5 separate regions of the Homo sapiens genome follow, and regions 1, 2, 3 and 4 are each linked to region 5. Evidence: promoter capture Hi-C in 16 types of primary human blood cells and fetal thymus (Javierre and others, 2016). All regions are on one chromosome and are shown on one strand. Each heading gives the region's core, a stretch centred on a gene start or on the middle of the fragment in contact. The rest is flanking DNA. Distances are from core to core; before and after follow the strand shown.

Region 1 (5,005 bases), core at 1,284-3,783, 590 kb before region 5:
TAAATGTCAAGAAATGTTTGCTGAGCGAATGAATTAATGATTTAGAGTTTATGCTCATTTATATACTCTCCCACTTGATCACTACTGGAATCCTGTGGGGGCTGGGCTGATCATTCCCTTTTAAAGATGAAGAAACTAAGGTTTAGAGAATTTAAGTGATTTAGCCAATATTAAACCAGCCAAATTAAGAGATGGACTTGAAACCATAAGTTGTAGAACAGAGAGGTTCTGTTACATTTTCAAGAACATGCAGCAGTTGGGGACAGAGTCAGGACTAGAACCCAGGTCTTCTGAAGGTGAACCCAGTGTCTGTTTTACTATGGCATCACATATAACTTTGGAACATATTTCTTATTTTTTATGCCATAATTATTTGTAGTTATTTCCCATCTTTCCCTCCTTATCTGACTCTAAAATTGTGCCTTTGGTAACTTAATCTTCCAGAAACTCCCTTCAAAATATTGATACATGGCCTAATAATAACAAAATATATTATGAGGTCTTATTACATACCAAGCTTTGTTGTAAACAACTTACATTGATCATTTCCTTAAATCCTCAGAGCCCTGTGGGTTAGATTCTATTATCATCCTTATTTCCTGGGTGTGGACACTGAGGTATGGGTAAATTGACAATACAAACCCCTGAGATCTGACTCCAGAGCCTAAGGGAGGGAACCCTATGCAACTGGTCCAAGAGAGATGTCCCCAAAGTGCAGTTGAAGGTTCGTAGGAGGGAAATCTCTGAGAAACACACAAAAGCCTCACAACCAGAGGGAAACAAATGCCCCAAAGAGAAACAGGCAGTTTTAAAACATCCTCCAAATCATGGCATCACCAGCTACATAAAATTATGCCCTTTTCACCTGCCTATCACCTTCTGGTTCCAGCTTGGAGGGGTGAACCCAGCTAATGAGGACCAGGAGACCCAGAAGCTCCCTACCCTCTCTATAGACTTCAGCAAAGCTAAAAAGAGCTAAAAGCATCACTAAGCTGGAGGCTGAAAATCTCTACAGTCAGGTAAGAGTTTGAATTATTGCAAATTCCTTGAATTGAGACTGTTTCGGGAACAGAAAATGATGGGGAGTTTTTGTAATTATCTGAAAGTGACCCCTGAAAGTTCTAAGATCTGACCAAGATTTCATTCATGCCATAAATTTGAACAAGTAACAGAGGAAAATAAAGTTGTCTTCTGCCCTCATATTGAGCTCAGCAGTGTAAGAAAATGGTTATAGAAATTAAAAAGTAAAGTCTGCCACCATCCAGGTTTTAGGGACTTCTAATTTTATCCAGATCTCTATTCGGCTCAATTTATCAGCTCTCAGACTAGAGGTTGGGCTATTTTAAAACTCCAAGGGGACAATATTTAATAATATATGCTGCCCAACTTCCTCCCAGAAGCGTAACAAGAAAAGGATTTCTCACAACCAAAATTTGGAGAGATGACTCAGGAGAGCCTAGTCTCATGGCCAGACTTGTGAGACAAACTGCTTTGTCTTGAGATGTCCAACTTTGAAAATTAACCAAATACACAAAGAACAGAAGAAGAGCTTGCCTTACTCAGGTATTCTGAGACCCAGGCCCCTGAAGCAGAATCTTCACCTGCCAGCTTGTTTGGTGAGTAATGCATATCCATCAGTAAGCTGAGAGTAAGTAAGTTATATCAGGCATTAAAAGAGATAAAAGTTGTGGAGCAACAGGAACTCTCATTCATTGTTAGTGGGAATGCAAAATGGTACAGCCAGTTTGGAAGGCAGTTTGTCATTTCCTCACAAAACTAAATATACTCTTAACATACGATCTAGCAATTTGTTCCTTGAAATTTACCCAAATGAGTTGAAAATTTATGTCTACACAAAAACCCGCACACAAATGTTTATGGCAGCTACAGTCATAATTGCTGTAACTTAGAAGAAACCAAGATTTCCTTTAGTAGGTAAATGGATAAATAAACTGTAAGTATATTCAGTTAATGGAATATTATTCATTGCTAAAAAGAAATGAGCTATCAAGCCATGAAAAGACATGGAGAAACTGTAAATATTACTAAGTAAAAGAAGCCAATTTGAAAAAGCTAAATACTATAGGATTCCAACTATATGACATTCTGCAAAAGACAAAACTGGATACAGTAAAAAGATCTGTGGTTGTCAGGGTTTGAGGGGAGGGAGGAATGAATAGGTAGAGCACAGAGAGTTTTTTGGGCGGCAAAAATACCCTGTATAATACTATGATGGTGGATACATGTGATTCTATGTTTGCCAAAACCCAAAGAATGTACGACACCAAGAATGAACCCTAACGCAAACTTACAGACTTTGGATGATAACGATGTATCAAAGTAGGTTTGTTGATTATAACAAATGTACCACACTGGTGGGGATGTTGATAGTTAGGGAGGCTGTGTGTTGGGGGCTTGCAGGTATATGGGAACTTCCTGTACTTTCCACTCGGTTTTGCTGGGAACCTAAAACTGCTCCAAAAAATAAAGTCTATTAAAAAAATAAAATTAACTAGAAAAAGAGATACAAGTTGAGTGGCAGACAGCCAGGATCTTAACTGAGATATCTCCCTCTCTTTATCTCTGACCTATCTCTGGCTTTCCACTTTCTTTTGCATCATTTGGTTTTAATCGAAAATGGAAGCTGGGTGCTGGAAACAGCTGGTCTATTCATTGTCTGACTCTGTCCAGGGGATACCCAGAGTCTTTGACATACCTCTGCATAAGCACAGAGCCAAGGGAGAGACCTGGACTGATTCCAAAATGTAAAGAAGAAGCTGGAAACTGGCAGCCTACAGGTTGAATTCTGCCTGCAGGTATATTTTGTTGGTCAGCAATTTACTATATTTTTAAATATAAACTACTTGCCAACATGTAAAATTGTAAGTTTCATATAAAAACATACATTTCTGGCTTTCTTCCTTTTTTTTTTTTTTTTTTTGAGATAGAATCTTGCTCTGTTGCCCAGGCTGAAGTGCAGTGTCACGATGTTGGCTCACCACAACCTCCCTCTGCCTCCTGGGTTCAAGCGATTCTCCTGTCTCAGGCTCCCGAGTAGCTGGGATTATAGGCACATGCCACCATGCCCGGCTAATTTTTGTATTTTTAGTAGAGATGGGATTTCGCCGTGTTGGCCAGGCTGGTCTCGAACTCCTGACCACAGGTGATCTGCCCGCCTTGGCCTTCCAAAAGTGTTTCCAAAGTGCTGGGAATACAGGCATGAGCCACCATGCCCTACCTGGCTTTCTTTCTTTCTGTCTTTTTTAAATCAGAGCTAGCAACAAAGATCCCACATTTCCATTAAGCAATTGCTGGCTAAAGCTGAGCTATTTCAGTTATGTCATCTCTCTGGCCCCTGAGGCAAGAAGGTCTGAGACCTCTGTTGTAATGGGTTTCATCTATTTAAACAATGACTTGGAAGTAATTGTTTGGGTAATAATGATGTGTCAAGATTACTTGGAATTTTCTAAACTGTAAAATCCACTTAGAATAAGAAAAGCATAAGCTAGTATATGACAGATCTGTTGTTCCCTATAGAAAAATTATGGAATTTTCTAAAAAGTGGAAATGTATAGATTATCACATGAGCTTCTACTGAATTACCAGCCAGTGAATATGCAAGAGGTAGCAGAGAGCTGTGCCGGGAATCAGAGTGCTGAAATTGTATTTCTAGTCCAACCTTTAGCTATCTGGGTGACTTCAGAATAGTCTCTTTAATTTCTTGGGCTACAGTTTTATTATTATTATAACACTAGGGATTGATGTAGCCAATGTTCCCTAACGAGTTTTTCTTAAAACACCCATATCTTAAAAAAATCACTGTGAAAATAGGGTTCCATTTGGGAATGCTGTGTCCTTTATCTATCTGGCTTTGGAGGACAATCCTTGAACATTGGTATATTCAGGAGAGGTCCTATAGGGACTGAAACTTGGCTAACTTTGTTTAATCTAGTGCATTTTTCAAATTTACTTGACAAAAACAGCATATTTCTGAAAGACAGCATCTATTAACATGGCTCAGAACTTACATCCTGTGGCACACACTTTGACGAGTCGCAGCTACCCTGAAATCCATTCAGCCTGAGGATCCAATGGTCCTGTGAAGATTTTTAAGTATAGTTTTAGAACTTCAGGATTTTGCATTTCAGGATGTTTATAATTAATTCTTTTGCATTTTATCCATTTTTTTTTCCCTGGAGATAGAAGTCTGTTTTTCTCCCTTAAGGTAACTGTGAAACAAATTAGCAATGGAAAGTATATTCTCTCTGCATTATCTGAATTTGATTTTCCAAGGTTTTCCTTCCTTCTCTAAATATAATGGGTGCTAATCCCTTCCAAAGTGACCATTATGCTGCTAAAATATTGAAGTCTGGCAAAGGCAGAGCTGTTGTGGAAACATTAAGAAAACATAATTACCGTACAATGGCACTGCCTAATTTGCATATTGTTGAAATGCATCTTGACCAGAGAAGACACAATTCTCAGAAAATATTTTCTGTGTCATAATTTCTTTCCCCTTTGTTTTTCTTATACACCTGGGGCTGATCAGAAAGCTTTATTACACAAAGTTGAAATAAATCAAGATTTTTAAAAATCTACTTTCCATGAATGAGGCAAGTTTAATCTTTTATGGTACCTCAGGGGTGAGTTTGGGAGCCCTGAAAAATATAGCTCCTTCTGGAGCACTAAATTCCTTGAAAGAGCTGATGACAATGCTATTTCCTTCCAGATGATGCGACAATGCACACAGGCAGAAAGGAATTAGCCTGTGAGCCTATTTCACCACATATTAAGCTAACCATTCAGCGTTATAAGGATGAATGTAGATTTATATCTTTAAAACAGTCTGAATGGGAACATTCAAATTCTTCATATAGAGCTCTATTTTTTTTCCAACAAAGGCAGAGGTTGCTGCAGGTATTCTTTTCAGTGTTGAACTCAACTCTCCTTGTTGCCATTTTTAAAGAGCTCGATGGCAAGGGATTTGGGATTGACAGCAAGTGAC
Region 2 (5,755 bases), core at 2,437-4,936, 610 kb before region 5:
ACACCGATTTCCTACCTACTCAACAGCAATTCCTCTTTCCTTCCTTGCCAAGAACTCTGATTTTGTTTGGGGCAATAGTGTACTCTGCTATGGGGTCGTGTTTGCTGTAAGCCTGTAATAACGAGCCCACTCTATTCCTCCAAGCTCCTCTATGGCTGATGGTATCACCTGATCTGGTCCTGGCTAATGACACCTAGAGAAAGTCAGCTTGGTAGCCTCTGAGAATGAAGAGGGAAGATAACTTTTAGAAGAGATTTTCCTCCATGATGAAAGGCAAAGATATCATTCCTCCCCACTTCCATCTGGGATGAAGATTAAGACCCATATTGGTTTGATGGATAAAACCAGCCAACCTAGTCCAAAGATCCAAAATTGTTTTTAAAGGAAATTGTGGATTTTAGAAAAAGCAAAGCTAGATTAACTTGTAGGCATATTTGGTTATCATTTTTTCAATAGATGAATTCATTAATTTTGGAAGTGCATAAATCTTCCAATGCTTTCTCCCTTGAGGCAAAAGCACAGGTGAGATGTAAGCAGCTCCACGGGCATGTTCCTCTCACAGTGCCACAGTTCCCTCTGCCACTCTGTGAGACACGGGTCCCAAACAGGTGACCTCCCAAGCTAGAGACTTTCTTGCCCTGTGTGGTAATTTGAGTATTTGAATTATACGATTGCCAGCCAGCATTTGGCAATTGAAGAATACATATACCAATATTGATTTCCTGCTTCTCTTTAAAACTGGGAAGATTTGGCAACCATGAGTCAGATTCATGCATGGGAACAATGATCTCCGACTAAATAACAATGCCTGGTTTAGATGGGGCAGCCCCTGTTGGTCACAGAAGCCAACCAGCCAGTGTGTGTGTGTGTGTGTGTGTGTGTGTGTGTGTGTGTGTGTGTGTGTGTGTTACCTGCCTTGATCTGGCCTGCATTTGTGTGTGCAACCACATGTATGAGTGTGTAGCAAGTGATAGAGCAACCCCACATTGGGATTTGCCCAGGACAACCCTGGTATGTGTTTGGTGTATCAGCATAACTACCAGACCAGCCCCACCCCTTGCCCCATTCCACTCTTCAAAGTGTGCCAGTTTGTACAATAAATTGTCCTACATATAGAGTGGCAGAGGTGCTTGCAGCACTGTGATGGGGCTATGTGGACATCGTTATCTGCCTGGGGAATCCCAGTCATATTCAGCCTCCCTTGACAATGAAGGATCATAACTATGGCTCTTTAACTCCTTTGTAGCTCTCTCTGATTCAGTCACAGAGAATCATGTTCATCAACTTTCTTTGAACTATGTTAGTCGTGCTGTCACTAACTTAAAAAGTCTTTAGAATTAAATCAGGGTAATTCTCAAGTTCCCAGTCTACAGAGGCTACAAACAGTTTCCTAAACTTGTCCCACTGGAAAAATCTTTTAAACTTTTTTGGCAACCTATATATCAGGACAAATAGTAACGTATTCAGGAATGCATTTTTTTTAAAAGTCTACTTCTTACCATCAAGTGCAGGGGCTGGAAGCCATGGCTGTAGAATGTGTATGGCAGCATCTTATCCTGTAAATCCCAAAGTTATGAGGGAATGAAAGATGGATCTTGTCAGCTTTATGCAGACCTAGAAAGAGGAAAAACAGGGAAGCCTGCTCTGTTAGCAGGCAGAAAACCAGAGGTAGTAAGGGTATTTCATAGCCCCTTCAAAATGTTGACAATTTTATTAATGATTCAGTTTCATATTTCAGTAATATGGTGAATAATTTGGGATTTGAAAAAAATACCTTTATATGCGACTTTCCCTGCTACAGTAATATTTTCAGGTACACCAGAGCCTATACAAGTCCCAGGCATGTTGGATTATTTGCCAAAAATGATTATTTGTGATGATACTTAATGTTGCAATTTACTGAGACTTCCTGCCACTACATCCATCTCTGACTTGACAGGTAAAGTAGGGAAGATTTTTGCAAGAAAGTAAAATGTTGGGTAATTTATGGTTTTTCAACTTGTGTGCAAAACTGTGTTCATGACTCACCCAACAGCTTGTCCTGACACTATGTGCTGTTTCCACTGGAAGCAAAAGCGTACAGAATATTGCAGAGGGGTGAACACAAAGCAGGGAGAGAGGAGACCTCAATTCTAGTCATTGCCTTTTTTCTACCTGTAACTTTGGTTGGGGTATTTCAATGTCTTCCTCCCTGGACTTGTATTCTTGGTCTTGCACATAAGGGTTTACAAAGGCCAGGATATGTGAAGTTTTGCTACAGTAACAAAAATTTCAGCAGCTTAACCAACAGAGGTGTATTTTTTGCTCAAATCAAATGTTCTATGGATTTGGTGACTCTCCAGGGCATCATGTTCTCTGTTGACAGATCACCAGCGAAGGCTGCTTTGGTCTTGTGGAAACTTCACATCAGTATGTGCTTCTATAATCGCAGATTGCCCATGGCTGAAGGAAAAAGCTTGGAGAATTGAACACTGTCTCTTAAATGCTTCTGTCTGGAAGTGAAACATATCACCTTCACTCATATTTCACTGGCCAAGGTGAATCCCAGGGCTCAGTCTAACTTCAAGGGAGCAGAGTAGTCTAATACTCTGTGTAGAAGAAGTGGAACTTGGTTACATTTGTAATGTCTGCCACAGGGTGGTACTAACTTTGTGATTTTCATATCTGTGTACATATGTTGATATATGCATATATACATACAAATGTAAACATGTATACACATATATATTCACATATATAAGCTTCAAAATTATTTGCTCAGAGGAAATCTTACATGGAAACGTAAGTATAACAAATGAAAGAACTACTGAGGATGATGTTCTTGGCTTTCATCACCCTTCTATACTTGAGGAAGACCAATGTTTCACAATCCCTGGACAGTTGTAAAATGCTATGATGCTATTCAGTGGTCAGAAACAGAATAACTTAAGAAACTCGCTTAAAAATAACAGACCAGCACAATTATTAAAATCAGATGTAAGTAGAATCATGTAACTGAGAAGACCTATACTGTATGAAAAAGTTAACCAACTCACAAAGAAACTGAGAAGAGAGACAAAAAACAGGTCAAATCCCAGTCTGAATAAATATCATTCCCAATAGCATGAAGAGGATTTGGGTCCCCAAATCCTAGTAAATATACCCTTTGCTGCAACTGACATTAGCTTACCATTTGTATATGAGGAAACAGAAAAATTTAGATCCCAGGTGTTAATTGGGGAAGATATTGCATATGAAGTTATTAATGGATGCATGAGCAATGTGACTTTTCATTAATGAAAAATAGAAAAATGGATATAAGAGTCTAATAATGTGTTTCAGTAGAGGAGCTAACTGAAAAGTCGTAAGACAGAAAAAAGCTAAAGTGACTTGCAAGACCAAGATGAGAACAAAACTCCAGTGTGTTCAGAGACAAAAACCATGCTAATACTGTAGACTCTGAATTACTTGTCTATTCTTCAACTCAAATTAATTAACATAGTCACTATATGTCTCCTATGCACCGGGTATTTTTTATAGGAACGAGGGGTACAGCAGAAAAGAAAACAGAAGAGTCCATTACCCTGGGTGAATGAGGCTAATAAGCTAGCAGAGGAGAAAGATGACTAAAATGTAACCTTTGCCCTGGGCTGGATTACAGCTTGAGGGTAGAGGTTGGGAAGCAGACATATAAACAGCATAACAGGTATCTAGTTAAGTAGGATATATTATATGTTTTTTCTCCAAAGAAACAGTATGAACCATGGTGGTTGCTGGTGAAGGAGTGCAGGGATCATCTTAGAGAAGCAAGATTAAGTAGAGGGTTTATTTCAGCCACACTGCTTCAACTGCTGGATTCAGCATGAACACCAGGCTAGTTAGTGTGGTGGCAGCAGCAGCAGAACATGGAGGCTTCTCTACCAACTAAATTTCAGGGATGTCATCAATTCTCTGCGTGTACCCATAGCAACAGCTACAATCAGAGCAATGAGCAGTTGGTAGGCCTTATAGTGTACGCATCTCGGATATACACACACTGAAAGGATTTATCACTCATTTTCCTTCATAAAAATTACTTGTATCTAAGATATTAATAAAAATTAAGGATCCAAAATAGGAAATCTCATGATCTAAAAGGATTAACCTTTATTTTTTACTTCTAGAAATCTATCCCATGGAAATAATGCAAAAAGCAGACAAAATTGATCCATAAAGATGTTTATATCAACATTATTTGAAACATGCAAGACAGAAAGAAGCTAAATGATAAAATAATTTGTGAGTTATCTGATATCTTTCCAATAAATGATTTCTCTGCTTTGGTAAGCCAGAGTCAGTTTCTGTTGTTCATTACTGAAAACCCTGACATACAGACACACACACACACACACACACACACACACACACACACACACACACACTCACGCATGTCTTCCCTGTCCACTTGTTACTGGGGCTTAGATCCAATTTAGTCCACAGAGGTGCATGCTTAGACAAAAGCTGTTTTTTTTCTCAGCAAGTTGTATGCTTATTGCATCTGTGTATATATACGTTAAAAAGAAATGCACAGACAGAATAATGCACACCAAAATAAATACTTTGAAACAGTGGGTACTTCTGGATACTAGGAGTTTTTTCTCTACTGGCTTCTAAAAGCTTTCTATTTTTCTAAGACATCATAATTATAAGAAATTATAAATAAACATAATTATAAGTAATTACTTTCATTATAAAAAAATTAAAAGGAGGTATGTTTTCTTCCAAAGAGGTCATACTAGTAGCTAAGACACACATATACAAATAATAGTATACATCCCAATGTGGCAAGTGCTGTCTATAAGAACTTTATGTTATAAGAGTATACCACATAGCAAATGACTTTAACTTTACTGGATGGAGTCACATCCTGGACCTGAGATCCATTCCTGTCTGAACAGGATCCCTGTAAATAGACCATAGCTTAGGCCCAGTATCAGGCTCTAAAGGTTACCATTGTTTTATTATGAATCTCCTACATACTTGGGATTTCTGGTAGCCTGACAGAGTACTTGCTTCTAAATTAGAAGACTTAGTTCAGGTTCTGTCACTCATGAATGAACAAACACTTGTTAAACACTTACTCTAATCCAAAATCAATATCTGTGTTTTGCATATGTTCCTTCATTGAACTTTACAGCCATCTTGAGAGGTTGGTGCTATTATCCCTATTTTTTGCGATCACAAGTCACTTTCTCCCTTTGAAAACACAGGTTCAGTATAAATGATTTTCCAGGTCTCAATCAGCTTTCATTTTTTTCTACAGCTTTGTGAATTTAGTCCTCTTCATATCTTAACTCACTGTGTGTTCCTTAACTTTTGACCTATTCACTTGGTCCTTCTTCCACCATTGCCTGGGTCAACCTCCAGATTCTTCCTCTTGCTTTAGATTTGTGGTCCTATTCTTGCTTCTTTCAGTCCTATGTGACACTGCTCAGCTTCCCCCAAGACAGACGCCAGGGACGAGACATCAAGGGGTCTGGGAGATAGGGAGTGGATGTTGGTCTCAGTGTTTCTCAGGGTAGGGCTATGAGGCCACTGTACTCTACAAGGGGTCCTCCTGGATAGATACAAATGTATCCCTGAATGTTAAGTCTTTTCTTTGGGGACTGAAGACAAGCCTGTGGACTTTCATTTTGATGTGCAACTAAAGATTTTTTTATTAATACAAATTTAAAATATGAATAACTAAAACTTGGTTTTCATAAACAAAAATTAGGGCATTATTAGAGTTTGCTAT
Region 3 (5,097 bases), core at 2,356-4,855, 630 kb before region 5:
GTAATTTAAACTTTCAAATCTTATTATTTAAGAAATACATTTTTCATAGGCTATAGCTGCCACAGATAGTGATTCCTCTGATGGATCTGGAAAAAGTAAATTGAAAACCTTCTGAAAAAGAGTCACCATTCTAGGTGCCATTAAGAATAATCATGATTCATGGGAGGTGGTGAAAATATCAACCTTAACAGGAATTTAGAAGAAGTTTACTCCAACCCTCATGGATGACGATTTTGAGGGTTTCAAGCCTTCAGTTAAGTAACTGCAGATGTGACAGAAACAAAAAGAGAACTAAAGTTAGAAGTGGAACCCACAGATAGGACTGAATTGCTGTGATCTCATGATCAAACATGGATTAGGAGTTGCTTCTTATGGATGAGCAAATAAAGTGGTTTCTTGAGAAGAAATCTACTGCTGAAGATGTTGTGAATGTTGAAATGACACAAAGAATTCAGAATATTACATAAACTTAGTTGATAAAGCAGCAGCAAGTTCTGACAGGACTGACTCCAATTTTGAAAGTTCTGTTGTGGCTTAAATGCTATCAAACAGCGCCGCATGCTAAAGAGGGATCTTTTGTGAAAGGAAGAGTCAATCTGTGGGGCAAACTTCGTTGCTGTCTTAAGAAATTGCTGTAGTCACCCCAACCTTCAGCAACCACTACCCTGATTAGTCAGCAGCCATCAACAGCAAAACAAGACTATCCACCAGCAAAAAAGATTATGATTCACTGAAGGCTCAGATGCTTGTATTTTTTAGCAATAAAGTATTTTTTTATTTAAGGTATGTACACTGTTTTTTAGATAGAATCTTATTGTACACATGATAGACTACAGTATTGTGTGAATAAAACTTTTATATGCAGTGGGAAACCAAAAAACTCATGAGACTAACTTTATTGTGATACTTGTTTTATTGCAGCAGTTTGAAACTGAACCTGCAATATCTCCGTGGTATGCCTGTACCCCCTGAAAAAAAATCTCTAGTATGAAATACATCACTACGTGAATATTCAGATGACACATAGGGAACAACTTGATGCAGTTACCTTGCCACGTATTTCAGTAGCAAACCAGTGCCAAACATACTTTTAGGCACTAAATGACTTAATATATTCCAAATCTACTCCTTGGGGGCCACATACTGACAGTGATCACTGACATACTTATTTCAACAGTAACATTTAAAATGACTATGGGAGCAAAATTTCTCACAGTTCAGTTAAAAGAAACAAGGGTAAACATGTATTTAAAGTGTCTGTATCTGGTATGGGGAAGAAAGTATTGCACGGTGATATGATCTGGCTGTGTCCCCACTCAAATCTCATCTTGAATTGTAACTCCCACAATTCCCACATGTCATGGGAGGAACTCAGTGGGAGGTGACTGAATTATGGGGGCAGGTCTTTCCTGTGCTGTTCTTGTGATAGTGAATGAGTCTCATGAGATCTGATGGTTTTAAAAATGGGAGTTTTCCTGTACAAGTTCTTTTTCCCTGCTGCCATCTATGTAAGACGTGACTTGCTCTTCCTTGACTTTCAACCTTCTGCCATGATTGTGAGGCCTCCCCAGCCATGTGGAACTTTAAGTCCAATAAACCTCTTTTTTTGTAAATTGCTCAGTCTTGGTTATGTCTTTATCGGCAGCGTGAAAATGGACTAATACAGCTACACAAAAGCTGCCTGTTAACTAAAGGCAGTATCAATATTACTAAACGTTAAAAAATACTAGTTTCAAGGTTGTTTGGGAGTCTTAAAGCAGTCTAATTATATCTTCCTTATTAGAATCTTCCTTAGAAACACTAGTCAAAACACACTGTACCATGAAACAGATCAGTTAACTGAGATAAAGACCAGGAAGTCTTATAGATACCTGGTTATAACCCTGATGCCCATCAAGTGCCCATTCTGCACAAGTTTTCACTGAAAACTGGAGGAATTCTACTGCAAGAACAATAAAAATTCGGTACAGTGACTAGTATATAAGTCCACTTCATTAATTATCCATAATAATTTACATTAAATTAGGATTCTGTATTTACATTAAAATATTAAATCCTCACCACTCAACAAAGGAATGATTAATAGAGAATTTTTAAGGTTACAGTGGAAACTGTCTTTCCATATTAAAAAAAAAAACTCAAAAAGCCCAATTATTCTAAATTTAGAAACTAGTAATCTTTTTCTTTAGGTAGCAATTATAAATATTAACTATACTTAAAATTGCACATCTCACAAACGAGTAGAAACAGGCTCCCTCAATTTTTTTTTCCTATGACAATTATGATTTAGTCAAAGGATATAACATAGGAATTAGTGCCCAAACAAGCAACATTTTTAAAGAGCACCTAGTCTCAAGTCAATTTCTGCGATGTCAACTGTATTTCATTAAAACACATAGCAAAAGAAACCTTTCTCTCTGGTTTGGAAGAAGGAAAACAGACTCTACTTCTCTACTACTACTCTACCCCAAAAGAATCCTCCCTTCTTTAAGATAATGGATGTTTATAACTCAAGAGCCGAACATCTAATTTGATCATAGTTTAATAAGCATTTCCCATGGAATTAAAAATCAAAAGCGATTAATATAGCTGATAAGCATAATAACAAGGATACCTTACAGCTGTGTGACATTTTATTGCTTTTGTAAACTGCTTTTACATAAAGTAGCTGCCTGTGCAATTTTTAGAGGATCAAATGTAGCTGGAATATTGCCATACAAGGTGGCTGGGTAATGAATCATGAAAGTTGTGTTTCTTTCTTAAAACAGGAAAAAAAACAACCTGTCTTCATTTTTTGAAGATGCATAAAAAATTAGTTTCTCACCTTCTGGTATTTCTGCCACCATTTATATGAACATTGGTCTTCTCTTGAGACAGGTTTTGAAGGAAATATCTGGCACTTATTGAGGGATTCTAATTGAACTGCAGACATGGTTGAAGGCAACACACATTCGGGAAGAATTTGCACTTTAGCTTGCTGGATTCTAAAATAAAGAGAACCAAGCATGGTATTCATTTCTAAGATTGACTAACTCAAAACTATAAGTTTCTAAACAGTGATAATTTTAAATACCAAGATTTTCCAAGTTTTATCTTTTAAACATATTCATCAAATACTGATGTTAAGATACAGAAACTTTCAGAAAATAATTTTATTTCATAAATCATACCAAAGTTAAAACCAAAGATAACCTAAGGTACGGATCTTCAATGTCACTGTGGAATGGAAAGGGAGATCTACACATTTCAGATAAATACAGAGTCTATAAATGAAACAAAGTTTTAAAAAAACCAACATACAACCAACTACTGCTTGATACTTCTACTTTCTTAAACATTCTTAAGACACCCAAATTCTTCTATCCCCCCACTTCTTATGCTGCTTAACTCTTACATCTATCCTTTCTCATAAGTCATCTAATCTAAGTAGAGAAAGGAAGAGAAAAATCAAGAATGCATTTACATGGATGAATTAAAATAACACTAGAGAGTTACATGCAACCTTTCTGTGTGCATTCCTTTTCACGTTCTTAAGAGTTTAACTGTACAAAGGATCAAACTATAAATTAGATTTTTTCTTAAAAGTTATTTAAAATGTCATAATAAAGTCATTTCCAAAATGCTACTTGAGAATATCATAATTGCAAACATCTTATCATGAACTAGTGCAAACAGGAAGGTTGTATCTATGAGCTATCTTCCTGTGAGGCATTCTATCTCTTAGAGTGTAGCTTCTGAAATGTAGAATATGTAACTATATTCAAATGCTAGTATATAACACTGTCAGACTGACAAAGTCAAATATATTAAAAGTCTCTGCTTTATTAGTTATACTTAAGACTTCTAAAGTAGTCTTTCATAATAACCACTGTTTGACCACAAGATATTATGGATGAAATTCTGACATTTTACTTATTTATTAGAAGGAAAAATAACTGAGTGTGTTAGAAAGTATCTAAGTTTAATTTAATGATAATAGTAGACTCACTCTACTAACTTTATTTCCTTCCTGCAAACTCATTAGAAATACTCAGAAAATTTGTCTACATGACTTCGGAAAATGTTAAAAAATTTTACTATAGTCAAATTATGGTCAAGTGTTCTTATATTATTATTAGAGCTCATTAGAAACAAAATCTCAATTTTCTTCACCTGATTCATGAACACAAATAACTTGTTAATTACATTATGAAGGTAAAAGTATATACCATCCTATAGAAATTTTTAGAAATCTGATTCTTCAAGGTTATAGGTAACTGAATTAAGAACTATGCTTTACCCAACTATTGTATAAGATTTGATTATGATAAAAACAGTAACATTATTGATCCCCTGGCTTACAGATCATGTTAATTAGTCTGCAGTACAAACTGTCTGAATTGCCTTGAAGGATTAAGGAATGCTCTCCTTTACCTGGTTAAACATGGCCAGGGTCCACTGCATATGCAGTGGCTGGTTCTTCTCCCAGCAGCTGAGTTTTGTTTTTAACATAAGCTAGTTTTTTTTCTTTCCAACTTGTTTATCACAGTTGTTTTGTGATTACAGCAACATAATTTATATAAATGTTATAAAAACCAGTGAAATATGACTTCAACAATAAAACTGCTTCAAGGAACATTAAGTTGAGACATAAACTGCTTTCAAATTAGGTACAGACTACTCTAATAGGAAAAAAACCGCACAAATCTGGAAAAATTCTGCACTCAAATTGCCTTGTGACTATCTTTAGAATCCCTCTTTAAAGAAAAACTAGCAGTATAAACTGTGGATAATGTACAATGAAAGTGCCAGAAAGTCTACAGTCATCTCCAATCTGCAGAACTGCTTCAATGGAAAGACCTTGGTCTCTCCAGATGAAAAATGAATGAATTTATAAAGTTAAAATAAAATGTTTAAGCTATATATGTGTAACATTTTGTGATTTCCAGCTTCAGCTAACTTTTTGACTAACAATTATTGGTCTCAGTCTAGACAGGTAAGAGATCTTCTCTTGTGATGCCAATAGGATATCAATCCCCTCCTCCTCTCTACATGCTAAGAAGTAGGAACTTCTGAAGAGTCCTATGTCAGTGAGACCTGTTTTTATTAAAAAAAAAT
Region 4 (5,321 bases), core at 313-2,812, 570 kb before region 5:
TCCTCATGATGAGCATATAAAAGGAGGAGGGAAGGAAGTTGAAAATAAGTAAATATATCCAGGATAATTCTTAAGCTCTAAATGTAAGAGAGATACTTGTGTTGCCTTTCCTTCTTTTCATTTCTGGCAGGTCCCCAAATTCTCTGGGTTTAAGGTCATGAGACTGCAAATAAACAGTCTGACAATTATATATACAGTAGTCTAGGGGGAAAATCTTCTGGTTTTAAGATTTGTGGTGTGCACTTCCCCAACATTGGTGGAATATCCCTGATGACACACCACCTTGGTAGGTGAAGCATATCTATTTTCTGCATTAATTCATGTATTGATTCATATTCTTCATCCCTACTACAAGATAACTGGGATGGTTAATTTTGCATGTTGACTAGACTGGGCGACAAGATGCCCAGATAGCTGGTCAGACATAATTTCTTGATGTGTCTGTGAGGGTGCTTCTAGAAGAGATTGGCATTTGAACAGTGGACTCAGTAGCTAGCCCTCCCCTATGTGGGCAGCCTCATCCAATCTGTTGGGGGCCTAAATAGAACAAATACATGGAGGAATGGAGGACTCATTTATTCTCTCTTACTGTTAGAGGGATATCGATCTTTTCCTGCTGTCAACACTCCTGGTTCTCAGGTCTTCAGATTGAACTTGAACTTACACCATCAGCTCTCCAATTCTCAAGTCTTCAGACTCAGGACTGGAACTATACCACTGGCTTTCCTCAGCTTACAGCTTGCAGACAGCAGCTCTTGGGATTTCTTAGCCTCCATAATCACATGAGCCAATCACTTATAATAAATCCTCCCCCTCTCCATATAGATAGATAGGGATGGAGATATAGGTACATATATATACCTATATGTGTACCTATATGTGTACACATACACACAGATATATACATATACACACTATATACATATATATGTGTGCATATATATATGTGTACATATATATATGTGTGCATATATATATGTGTATATATATATGTGTGTGTGTGTGTATGTATGTGTATATATATATATATATATAAAATAACCTATTGGTTCTGTTTCTCTGGAGAACCCTGACTAATACAGACACTAAATGGCATTGAAGCAATAGACTGAATCAGATAGTGCCAACTGTAGTACTCACAGTATCCTTGGGTGAAACAAATGAGTGTAAGAGGGCTATCTCCCATTTACTGTGAAACACACAGCCCTCCCTGTCTTTTTGGTTCTCCTACTTTCTCCAGGGACATGAATACAAGAAATATTTCACCTTAATTACACTGTAAGAAGACTAGCACAAATACAAAATAACAATCAACATTTTATCTTTTCAGGGAACAACAGAGCTTGATGGGACTTAGGCAAACTTCAAAGTGGGTGCTGGGCAAAAAGGGTTTGGTTGTTACCAGGCCTTAGCTGACTGGTGCAGATTGCAAATAATTATTGTAAGATCTGCTATTTTTTTTTTCCAAGAGATGTCAGAAATCTGGATTTCTATGTAAACAATCCAATTTTCAAAGCTGGCCACTAATTCAAATTTTTAAAAGTCACATAGGTTTGGGAAGAAAACATGTTATAGGCCATTTCTGAGTCATGGATCACCATTTTGAGAAGTCTGGGACAACTGGAGAGGTAGACATGCTGAGTGGGGTGGAAATGGGGAGAAAAAAGCACAGTTAGAACATGATATTGTCATCATCCTTGGAGCATGACCAAAGCAGGTACATTTACACGGTTTCCTATACCAGACAGTAAGTGTCTGCTAAATCAGAACCATATTCACTTTAGTGTAGTTAAAATGATTATTAGAATGATATGTTGGTAATTTAAATTAATTGCATAATGATCCACCACAGATTACAGTAAGTGAAGGAGAAAATAAAAATAAACACTGAGCTGGAACAGATTTGTAGGATGAGCAGAGAATGACAATTCCAGAGAAGTGGTAGATACAGAATTCACAAATCCTAGTCTCTCACCCTTTTACTGAAAACATGAAGGGGACTGGCAAAAATATGGCAAAAGTAGTAGTGGTTCTTACAAAAAGAAAAGATTTCAAATTTAGAAGCACCGTCTTCAAAAGAATCATCCTTGTTGTCTAGAAATTATTTTATTTATTATAAGCCAAATTGTGATTTTTATACTCCATTAAAATGTTTCATAGAGTTTGTTTATAACCTTCAGGCAGGTAGTGATCTCATTCAGTCTTAATTTCTTTATTTGGAAAAGAGTGATAAACACGATGGCTTCTGAAAATTCAACTCTATCATTTTATGAGCTTCTATTCCCGGAAGTGATAGTTGTCCCATCACAGGAAGTGATGCTCCACTGGAAAAAGACCACTTAAAAGAAATGCAATTAAAATAGGGACCAAAAATGTATGCCAAATTGCGAAATGTTTGATTGGAATTTTCTCTCAAAAAATGGGAAGAAAATTACAAAATTTGATTCCAAACTTACCATCATTTAGGTTATAAACGCAACTATGCATAAGATGTCAGAATGAACACAGCATGAATCAAGCAGTGATTGATTCTGGACGAGCATATTTTTTTTCTGACTAATTTCAGTGGTAGAAGATACCATATCTTTTATTTCGTGTTTGACTCTCACAGTGTGGAAATCAAGAGGGGCACTTCCATGAAAATGTTTGAAGGCTTGATCAATTTTCCCAAGAGCCTCTCTTTCATCTTTGGTACTTAACTCGTTCCCCTCTGAAGCATTTATCTTGCAATCATTCTTGTCTATTTTTCTCTTAATTGTTAACCATCTGACTTTACAGGTCCTTATGTGTCAAATGGTTTTATGTTCAATTAGAGCAGCTTTCTCTCTCTTTCATAGGTGTTACAAAATCCTGCATTTTGGGGGCAAGACTTATTGGATCTACAATTGCTTTTCATTGTTGAAGCACAGAATTGACAAATAATCAATAAGGTGCTACCTAACATAGACAGTAGTCTCTGAGTTTGTGAATGGGGCTAATTTTGTAAGCAGTCAACTATTAGTAAATATTTTTGTGCTTCCAAGACTTTTCCCTCTCTTACTTAAATAATTCTATGATAAAAAACAAACAAATATTCTTTAATTACCTGATTCTTCTCTGCTTGAGTGTTTTGTGATTCTTCTCCATTGAGTGTGTTACTTACCACACACAGCATAAGCTTATTATAGAAAAACTCTAATTTTCTCTTTTCAGTGATAGATGTATTCAATAAACTACTGTTTACTTTCTGAAGTTTATATTTGGGAGAAAAAGACAAGAAAATAAACTCATGTATTAGTCTGAACATTCAGTTTTTAGGTATGGACCAAAGTTTGTAGAATTTCAGACCAAACTGCCTGTGCGTTCTCCAACAATAAGAATTGAGGCTCAGAATCCAGACATCACACCTGCTTAATTGCATGTGGTCAATTGCATGTCATTATAGAAATACATATATAGGCGTGTGTGTGTGTGTGTGTGTGTGTGTGTATATATATATATATATATATATATATTTTTTTTTTTTTTTTTTTTTTTTTTTTGAGACAGGATCTGGCTCTGTTGCCCACACTGGAGTGCAATGGTGTGATCTTGGTTAACTGGAACCTCTGCCTCCCAGGGGCAAGCTATCCTCCCACCTCAGCCTCCTGAGTAGCTAGAACTACAGGCACACACCACCATGCTTGGCTAATTTTTGCATTTTTTGGAGAAATTGGGTTTACTATGTTCCCAGGCTGGTCTTGAACTCCCGGGCTCAAGCAGTCCTCCCAACTTGGCCTTCCAAAATGCTGGGATTATAGCCGTGAGCCACGACGCCTGGCCTATAAATAATTTTTAAAGTAAAATATAGATTAAAAATAAAAGCATAGAATAAACTAAGAGAAAAAAATTGTAGAAAATCTGCAATGAAATATTTTAAAGAGTTAAAATTAAAACCCTCAAAATCCTTGGATCAGATCCACCCACATGAGGTTCACTTTTTAAAGATGAAATGATTTTAAAAAAGTTAGCAAAAGGCCCTCACAACTGGTAATAATAGGACTGGGGCGGAACTGCAAATCACTGCTGGGATACTCTCTGAATTATAAATTAAAATAGAAGCTACTTTACAATATAATCATTTGTCTAAAACAAGTAGGAATTGCAACCAAAGGGCAAATTGCCCAACAAGAATTGCCAATTATAATGTGATGTATGAACTTTGTCAGATAGGAACTTGGCCTTCAGAGAAGATGAGTGTCAGCCTGTGGATCGCTTCCAGCACTTACAGTCAGGAGACAGCAGGGTTTCTACAGCTTGGCACTATTGGCATCATGGGCTGGAAAATTCTTTCTTGTGGGGGTTGTCCTGTCCACTGCAGTATATTTAGCATCATCTGTAGCCTCTACCACTAAATGCAGGCAGCACAACTCCTACCTCCATCCTGCCTCCCCACACCAGAAAGTGACAACCAATATGCTCCAGACATCATCAAGAGTCCCCCAGGCATATAAAATTGCCCCTCCTGTTTGAGTACTGCTGGGGCTGGGACTTTTACTTAAGGGTAATATTCACTCTTTTTTAGTGGCTTCTAGAAGGACTCTTCTAATGTATTTCAACTGAGAACTTCCCAAATTTTTAGTCATCCCAGTACCCTGTTGATGTGTTTTCTCATCATTGTGTACTAATTTTAAGAACTTTGATAATTTATATACTACCTGCTCTATTATTTACTTAATATTTCTTAAAGCTATTTCCCTTTATAAATGGAAATAAATTTATTTTAAAAGGAAACATTTAATCTACTCTCATAAATGGAAGCTCAGCATTAACTAGAAGGTAATTAAAAATATATATACGGACAGCAAAAGTATTAAATTCTAGCTAGATAGTATTGGCTGCAGAAGTCTCATCATAGCCTAAGGTCTGTGCTCTATTTATTAAACTGGAGAGACTAAAAAGTATTCAATGTGTTGAAGGCACGCTAACATGGAGGATGAGAAGTTCTCCTTGTGGTATTCAAAGGATGGGGGTATAAAAAATGTAAGGGAGTGATTTTCTCATTATGTTGAAACGGCTTTTGCAAAAATTATAACAGTGAGAAAATCATGGCAGTGGGGGAGATCTGATCTAGCCAACCCATCTCCTGCCTTTAGCTTTCAAGCTGCCTTAATTTTTCTTGGGCTTAGGCAGAGCCAACTTTGGAAGACGTTTAGGTTATAGTTTAAGTAATAGCCCTTCTCCAAAACTCACCCACCTTTGTGAAGCTAATGAGATACCACCAGGCCAGGGGGAGGAGAGAAGCCTAAATTCTGCTAAGGTGTAGACTGATCACAAGATATGCAACTTTCCCAATTACTCCT
Region 5 (5,215 bases), core at 1,067-3,566:
GGCAATTCAGCAAATTTCTAATAATTACACCACATTTCAGACTCTTTCATAATTGTCATGCTCATTTTTCCTCTTCTGTCCACAGCAAGCCCCATCCTCTCACCCAAATTCCTTCCCCCATCCCTGACACACATTTCTTCCTAATGATAATGCTCTTCTCTCTGTCTGGAACCAAATGCATGCAGTGGTCAAGTAGAAATGGGAAAAGCTGCCTTTCTCACTCTTGCCTTGGGGAAGAGGGAAATTAGTTTAAATAAATGATATGCTAATTTGAAAAGAAATGAATCGAACAGTGGAGAGACAGAGTCCATTTCCTCCACTGGAGCAGCTAGTGCCTTTGAGATATTCTGTCACATGCGGAATCATTATCCCACCTGTCTGAATTGATGTCTTGTTTTAGTCTTCAATACCTGCCTAATAATGCCTAGAGCTTACATCTGTCGTTGAATGCTTACTATATACTAAGCACTGTCCTAAGCATTTTACATGTTTACTCCCACTTAACCATCACAATCCTTTGGGATAAGTACTGATATTAACCCTACTTTAGAGCCAAGGAAATTAAGCCTTAAAGAGATAAAGTGACTTGCCATTAGGGACACAGCTCATAAATTGCAGGGCTGGGACCTAAGCAGTGTTGGCCTGGTTTCAAAATTCACACCTTGGTCCCTGACTCACACCATTCTCATGAAGTCTCTTCCAAAACCTGGAGGCTGTTCTAGATCTGGCCTCCCAAGAGCAACTCTCACCATCATTAATTGCTCCGACTGCTCCTCCAAGACCTACCTCTGTAAAGCTCCTCCTTGAAGGGCACAACCTCATCTCTCTTCCACTCCCAGGAAGGCAGGCTGGAAACCTAATAGAGACTCCCTAAGAAACCTGCATTCTATCTTTCCCTGACCATTCAATTTCCGTACTTCCACCAGAGCCCAACTTCTATCAGACAAACTCCATGCTATCTGCATGCTAACTCCATGGATAATCTGCATGAAAAGGGGGGAAAGAGACAAAATCATGTTACAAAACTTGGGCAAGGGTCTAGACTCAACTTGCTTTGAAAGATCTTAAATCTTCCCATTCATTTGTAGACAGCAGTGGGCCTTTTTCTTCCTCTGCTCTGCACGACCTTCTAGCCCAAGTGCTAGTATCACCTTTTCCTAAAGACTTTTAAGACAAACTGTGACCATTTATGTCTACATGACACAGTTTCAGGATAACAAAGTGTGAAGACACACAAAGACGTCAAACATTTATCAGAGACCTAAGCGAAACGCCAATAAATGTTACAGGGATCAAGAATATGGTTACTGACATTGAATGTATCCTGTGGCTTTGAAGAATCCAAAGGATGATTCTCGAATAATGTATCCTTCCAAATTCTCCAGAAGTTCTAAGTTTAGACATCATAATGAAATGTCACCACGTTCCTCTGCCAGAAGTTGTTCAGTACTGAGGGGCTAATGATGCTTTCGCTTAAAGCCGATTCCCCCAATAAAGGGTGCCAAGGCTTTTCTGAAGCCCTGCTTCCGGCTGGCGACTTTGAAGCTGAGACGCAGGTTCACGCGCAGTTTCCGAAGACCTATTCCGTCCCCACCCTCCTCCCCTTCCTCGGAGACACCTCCACTTAACACTGCCTTCTCAGTCCCTCGCCGCCTGTTTAAACACAACTTCCACCCCTCACAAATCAGAAAGCTGTAATTTCAAAGTTTCAGAAACGTTTTCGGAAAGCCTCCTCCAATGGGAAGCGACTTCGCCGCTGAGTTAAGCGTCCGAATCCTCCTTCCCGCGGCAGGGACACCGGCCCGGGCCAGGTCTGCGGAGGACGCCCCCGGGCGCGCACACACAGCCCGAGGACGCGCCCTGTATTTTAAGACGCAGGGTCGGATTTCACCCCGAAACTTGGCTCCCACAGCCCCAGGCCGAACTGTGTCTGGTTCTCAGCCCCCGAGCCCGAGTTCTACGCCGCAAAGAGATGGGGCCCCATTGTGCCTAGCTGGCCTCCTAGCACGGACGTGTATTTTCTTTTGGTCTGTCTTTTGCTAAAAACCGGCAGTGCGCTTCGCCTCCCTGCCCAGCCGCAGCCTGCCGTCCCCTAGACAAAAAGCGGCGACCGCGGCCCGGCCACCCGAGCCCCGCCGCGCTGCGCCTTTGTTGGGCGGTCCACAGATGGTGCCCAGCACGGGGCCGCGCCGAGGGCGGGGGCGGGAGGCCGCGAAGAGGGTCGGGCGGGAGGGGAGGAGACGGCGGAGCAGCCAATCCGCGCGCGGCCCATCAGCTGACCGCCTTTGCTTACACCAGGTGCACGCCGGCTGCGGGGAGCACAAAGCGGGGCGCACCGCGGGCGCCGGCAACGAGCCGGTGAACGAGGCGAGGCCCGTGCGCCCGCGGCTGCAAGCGCCCGCCTGGCGGGGAGAGGGGCCGACGGCGTCAGCCCGGGCGGCGGCATCCCTAGGCGCCTGGGGCGCCTTCCTCCGGACCTGGCCGCTCGCTGCCCCGCCCTCTGCACCCCACTTCTCCGACCCTCCTTCCCAGTCCTGCCTCCCCCTGCCCTGGCCTCTGAGAGCCGACTGAGCCCAGCCCCGTGCAGCAGCGGTTGCCTGTGTCGCCGCCTAGTCTCCGGTCTTGGTGCTCTCCCGGGGGTGCCCCAAGGAGCCAGTGCGCGCTGCGGGCTGGGAAGGAGGCGCCGCTCAGCTAGTCCTCCTCCTCCTCCTCGTCTTTCTCCTCCTCCTGCTGCTGCTGCCGCCGCCGCCGCCGTGGGTGCCGGGTCCGCGCGCACCCCAACACCCCCACCAGCTGGGCCTCGGGGTAAGTCCCTGGCCGGCCGCGCCGCGGCAGGAGGTGTGGGAGGCAGCGAGGGGAAGTCGAGGCAAACTTGGTGGCGTGGGAGACCCTACGGGGTCTGGGGAACCTCAGGGTAAGATCGCGGGCCTGAGGGGGACGAGGGGGCGCGGCTCACGGAGCTGGGGAAAATGACGAAGTCGGGAAACGAGAATATAGTGCCCCGTTTCCCCCCGTCCCCCTTGCCAAAAAAAAAAAAAAAAAGGTGTGGGAGAGCGATAGTTGGGAAGGCAGGCCAGATAGAAACAGGCAAAAAAAGGCAGTGACCGGAGCCGAGCCTGCTGGATTTCAGGGGCCGACCAGGGGAGGGAGGTGCCCGGGGACGGGGAGGGAGGAGGGCTGCCGGGATGTGAACCGGGGAAGGCAGCTGGGGCTGGAGAGCAGCGCGGAAAGGGGGCCCAGGGAGCTGGAAAGAGGGCCAAGAGGAGGGCAAGGAAGGTGGCGGGCGACGGGGAGAGGAAAGAAAAAGGGTGTCTTGGCGGTGGCCTTGGTAAGAGAAAGGGGCAAGGGGTATAATTGACAAGGCACTGAAAGTATTGAAGTCAGAGCCTTGGGAAGGATCTACCGAACTCTCGGCGGTCCACGCGGGGACAGACCTCAGCCCGTGAGCCTTGAGCTCCACGCGGGGACAGACCTCAGCCCGTGAGCCTTGAGCTCCACGCGGGGACAGACCTCAGCCCGTGAGCCTTGAGCTCCACGCGGGGACAGACCTCAGCCCGTGAGCCTTGAGCTCCACGCGGGGACAGACCTCAGCCCGTGAGCCTTGAGCTCCACGCGGGGACAGACCTCAGCCCGTGAGCCTTGAGCCCAGAAGGAGTGGCAGCCTCAGGACGTTTGCCAGGTGGCCTGGAATGTGAGGGAAGCCTCAGCCCCGCCAGGAACAGAGCTGGCGCTGAGTTCCCGGCTCGGCCCGGGTCAGAAGCGAGGAAAGTTTGCCGGCGAGTGTCCTTTGTGCTGCGTGGAGAGGGGTGTGGGCGGCCGCCGACTCGGCGCTTCCCCGCCGCCCGCCCAGGGAGTCCCTGCCTGGCAAGCTGGGGCTCGGGGAAAAGTCCAGCAGCGAGAGGGCCGCGTGTCCCGGGACGGTTCCAGGGGAGCCCGCGCGGAAACGCGGACCAGGCGCTTCGGCCCGGATGCCGGATCCAGGAGAAGGGGACCTCGCTTGCCGTGTCCACCGCCGCGGCCCCAGCGCCAAGAACAGAGCCTGGCCGTGAGTGAACGACTGGCCGGGGTACAAATGGTTCTGAAGCACTTGAAGCTCACAGGCAAAGGCTAAGAGTCTAAATCCCATCCCGCCGTAAGTATTTTCATTCCCAAACCTAAATCGTAAAGGAAAAGTGGAATTCTAATTGGGTGAGGGAACAGGTGCTGCCGACTCTGGCTTTTGCGTGGAGGATTTTCTAAAAGACAACATGTTTTGTTTTGTCTTGCCATGACAATCTAAATCATGTTAGTGGAATAGGCTCATTATTTCATTTTTAAAAGCTAGGGCTGGAGGAGTGGAAAGTTCAGGAAGGCACTTTGATCAGTATAAATCTAGAGTAAAAGTGTTATTGGCTCCAGGGCCATATGTGTCCCGAAGTCTCTGATTTGCATGCAAATGTGAGCGGATCCTGGCAGATGTCTGGCCTCATCCATTCACATGAAGGAATTTGAAAAGACAAGGAGTCTTCAGTTAACAATAGACCTTAAGAAAAGAGAATAAAGACGCAGTGTGAGTTTTTCTGTTTGGGAATTCCATGGTTTGCTGACACCTTTATTCAGGAGCCAAATTCTTTAAGTGCTATTGTATTGAAAGCTCAAAGTGCTGCTTGCTCTTTACCTGGCTGTATATATTCGTGCAATATTCAAGCTGGATATTCTAAGCTAGTTAGGAAAAGGTTTGTGTGAAGCAGACAGTAACTTTAACCCACTTCTGGCGGCTTGAAGTGATTTCTGAATTGACCCCTCAACTTTTCGAGTTTTCTTTTAATAATTTGACTCTTGCTCAAATTTGGTCCTCATCTTCAGAGCTATTCATTATAGTAGAAGATCGTTGTCGTTGACCGACATGAAGATTTCCTGAGAATGTCCACTGTCTAGCTGAGAATGTCCACTGTCTAGCCAAAGTCATTTCGGTTCTTAAGGCACCAAACTGTAGAACTGCAGGTGATGCAACTGTCCCAACCCTAGTTACCCGAGTGGTTTTCAGGTCACATAACAGTGAACGGGGAGGTAGTCGTGCAGTAGACTCTGGAGCAAGGGCCTTTCTGCCGTGTCTAACATTAGCTGCGTGACCACACTGCACTGTTCACCTCTTGGCGTTGTGCGACAGCTGAACAAAAGGCAGGCAGTGTGGGCCGCACGTGAGGCAGGCGATTATATTAATACCTACGACTAA

Evidence for each region. Contacts are between HindIII fragments. The CHiCAGO score rates a contact against its expected background, and 5 or more counts as called.
Region 1: a contact is called between a fragment that was not itself captured here and the fragment with the promoter of LRRN1 in region 5, in 3 of 17 cell types (M2 macrophages, M1 macrophages and M0 macrophages). The highest score is 10.2, in M2 macrophages.
Region 2: a fragment that was not itself captured here is called in contact with the fragment with the promoter of LRRN1 in region 5 in 2 of 17 cell types (M2 macrophages and M0 macrophages); the score reaches 7.1 in M2 macrophages.
Region 3: a contact is called between a fragment that was not itself captured here and the fragment with the promoter of LRRN1 in region 5, in 1 of 17 cell types (M2 macrophages). The highest score is 5.6, in M2 macrophages.
Region 4: a contact is called between a fragment that was not itself captured here and the fragment with the promoter of LRRN1 in region 5, in 1 of 17 cell types (M2 macrophages). The highest score is 5.9, in M2 macrophages.

What each region holds. Positions count from the first base shown.
Region 1 is chr3:3,206,578-3,211,582 of GRCh38, forward strand. No RefSeq gene overlaps it. Among named protein-coding and RNA genes, the nearest start is that of CRBN, 29 kb to the left of the region's middle. The HindIII fragment of the contact is 4,036 bases long and covers 516-4,551 here.
Region 2 is chr3:3,183,096-3,188,850 of GRCh38, forward strand. No RefSeq gene overlaps it. Among named protein-coding and RNA genes, the nearest start is that of CRBN, 6.3 kb to the left of the region's middle. The HindIII fragment of the contact is 1,894 bases long and covers 2,740-4,633 here.
Region 3 is chr3:3,164,810-3,169,906 of GRCh38, forward strand. CRBN (cereblon) reads right to left here. Exons shown (of 11, transcript NM_016302.4): 5 at 2,825-2,984. Among named protein-coding and RNA genes, the nearest start is that of CRBN, 12 kb to the right of the region's middle. The HindIII fragment of the contact is 8,322 bases long and covers 1-5,097 here.
Region 4 is chr3:3,223,585-3,228,905 of GRCh38, forward strand. No RefSeq gene overlaps it. Among named protein-coding and RNA genes, the nearest start is that of CRBN, 47 kb to the left of the region's middle. The HindIII fragment of the contact is 3,186 bases long and covers 1-3,155 here.
Region 5 is chr3:3,797,115-3,802,329 of GRCh38, forward strand. LRRN1 (leucine rich repeat neuronal 1) reads left to right here and starts at 2,317. Exons shown (of 2, transcript NM_020873.7): 1 at 2,317-2,805. LOC100130207 (a long non-coding RNA gene) reads right to left here and starts at 3,761. Exons shown (of 6, transcript NR_149025.1): 1 at 3,587-3,761. RefSeq lists silencers at 2,218-2,287, 2,298-2,387, 2,528-2,637, 5,171-5,215. The HindIII fragment of the contact is 7,976 bases long and covers 1-5,215 here.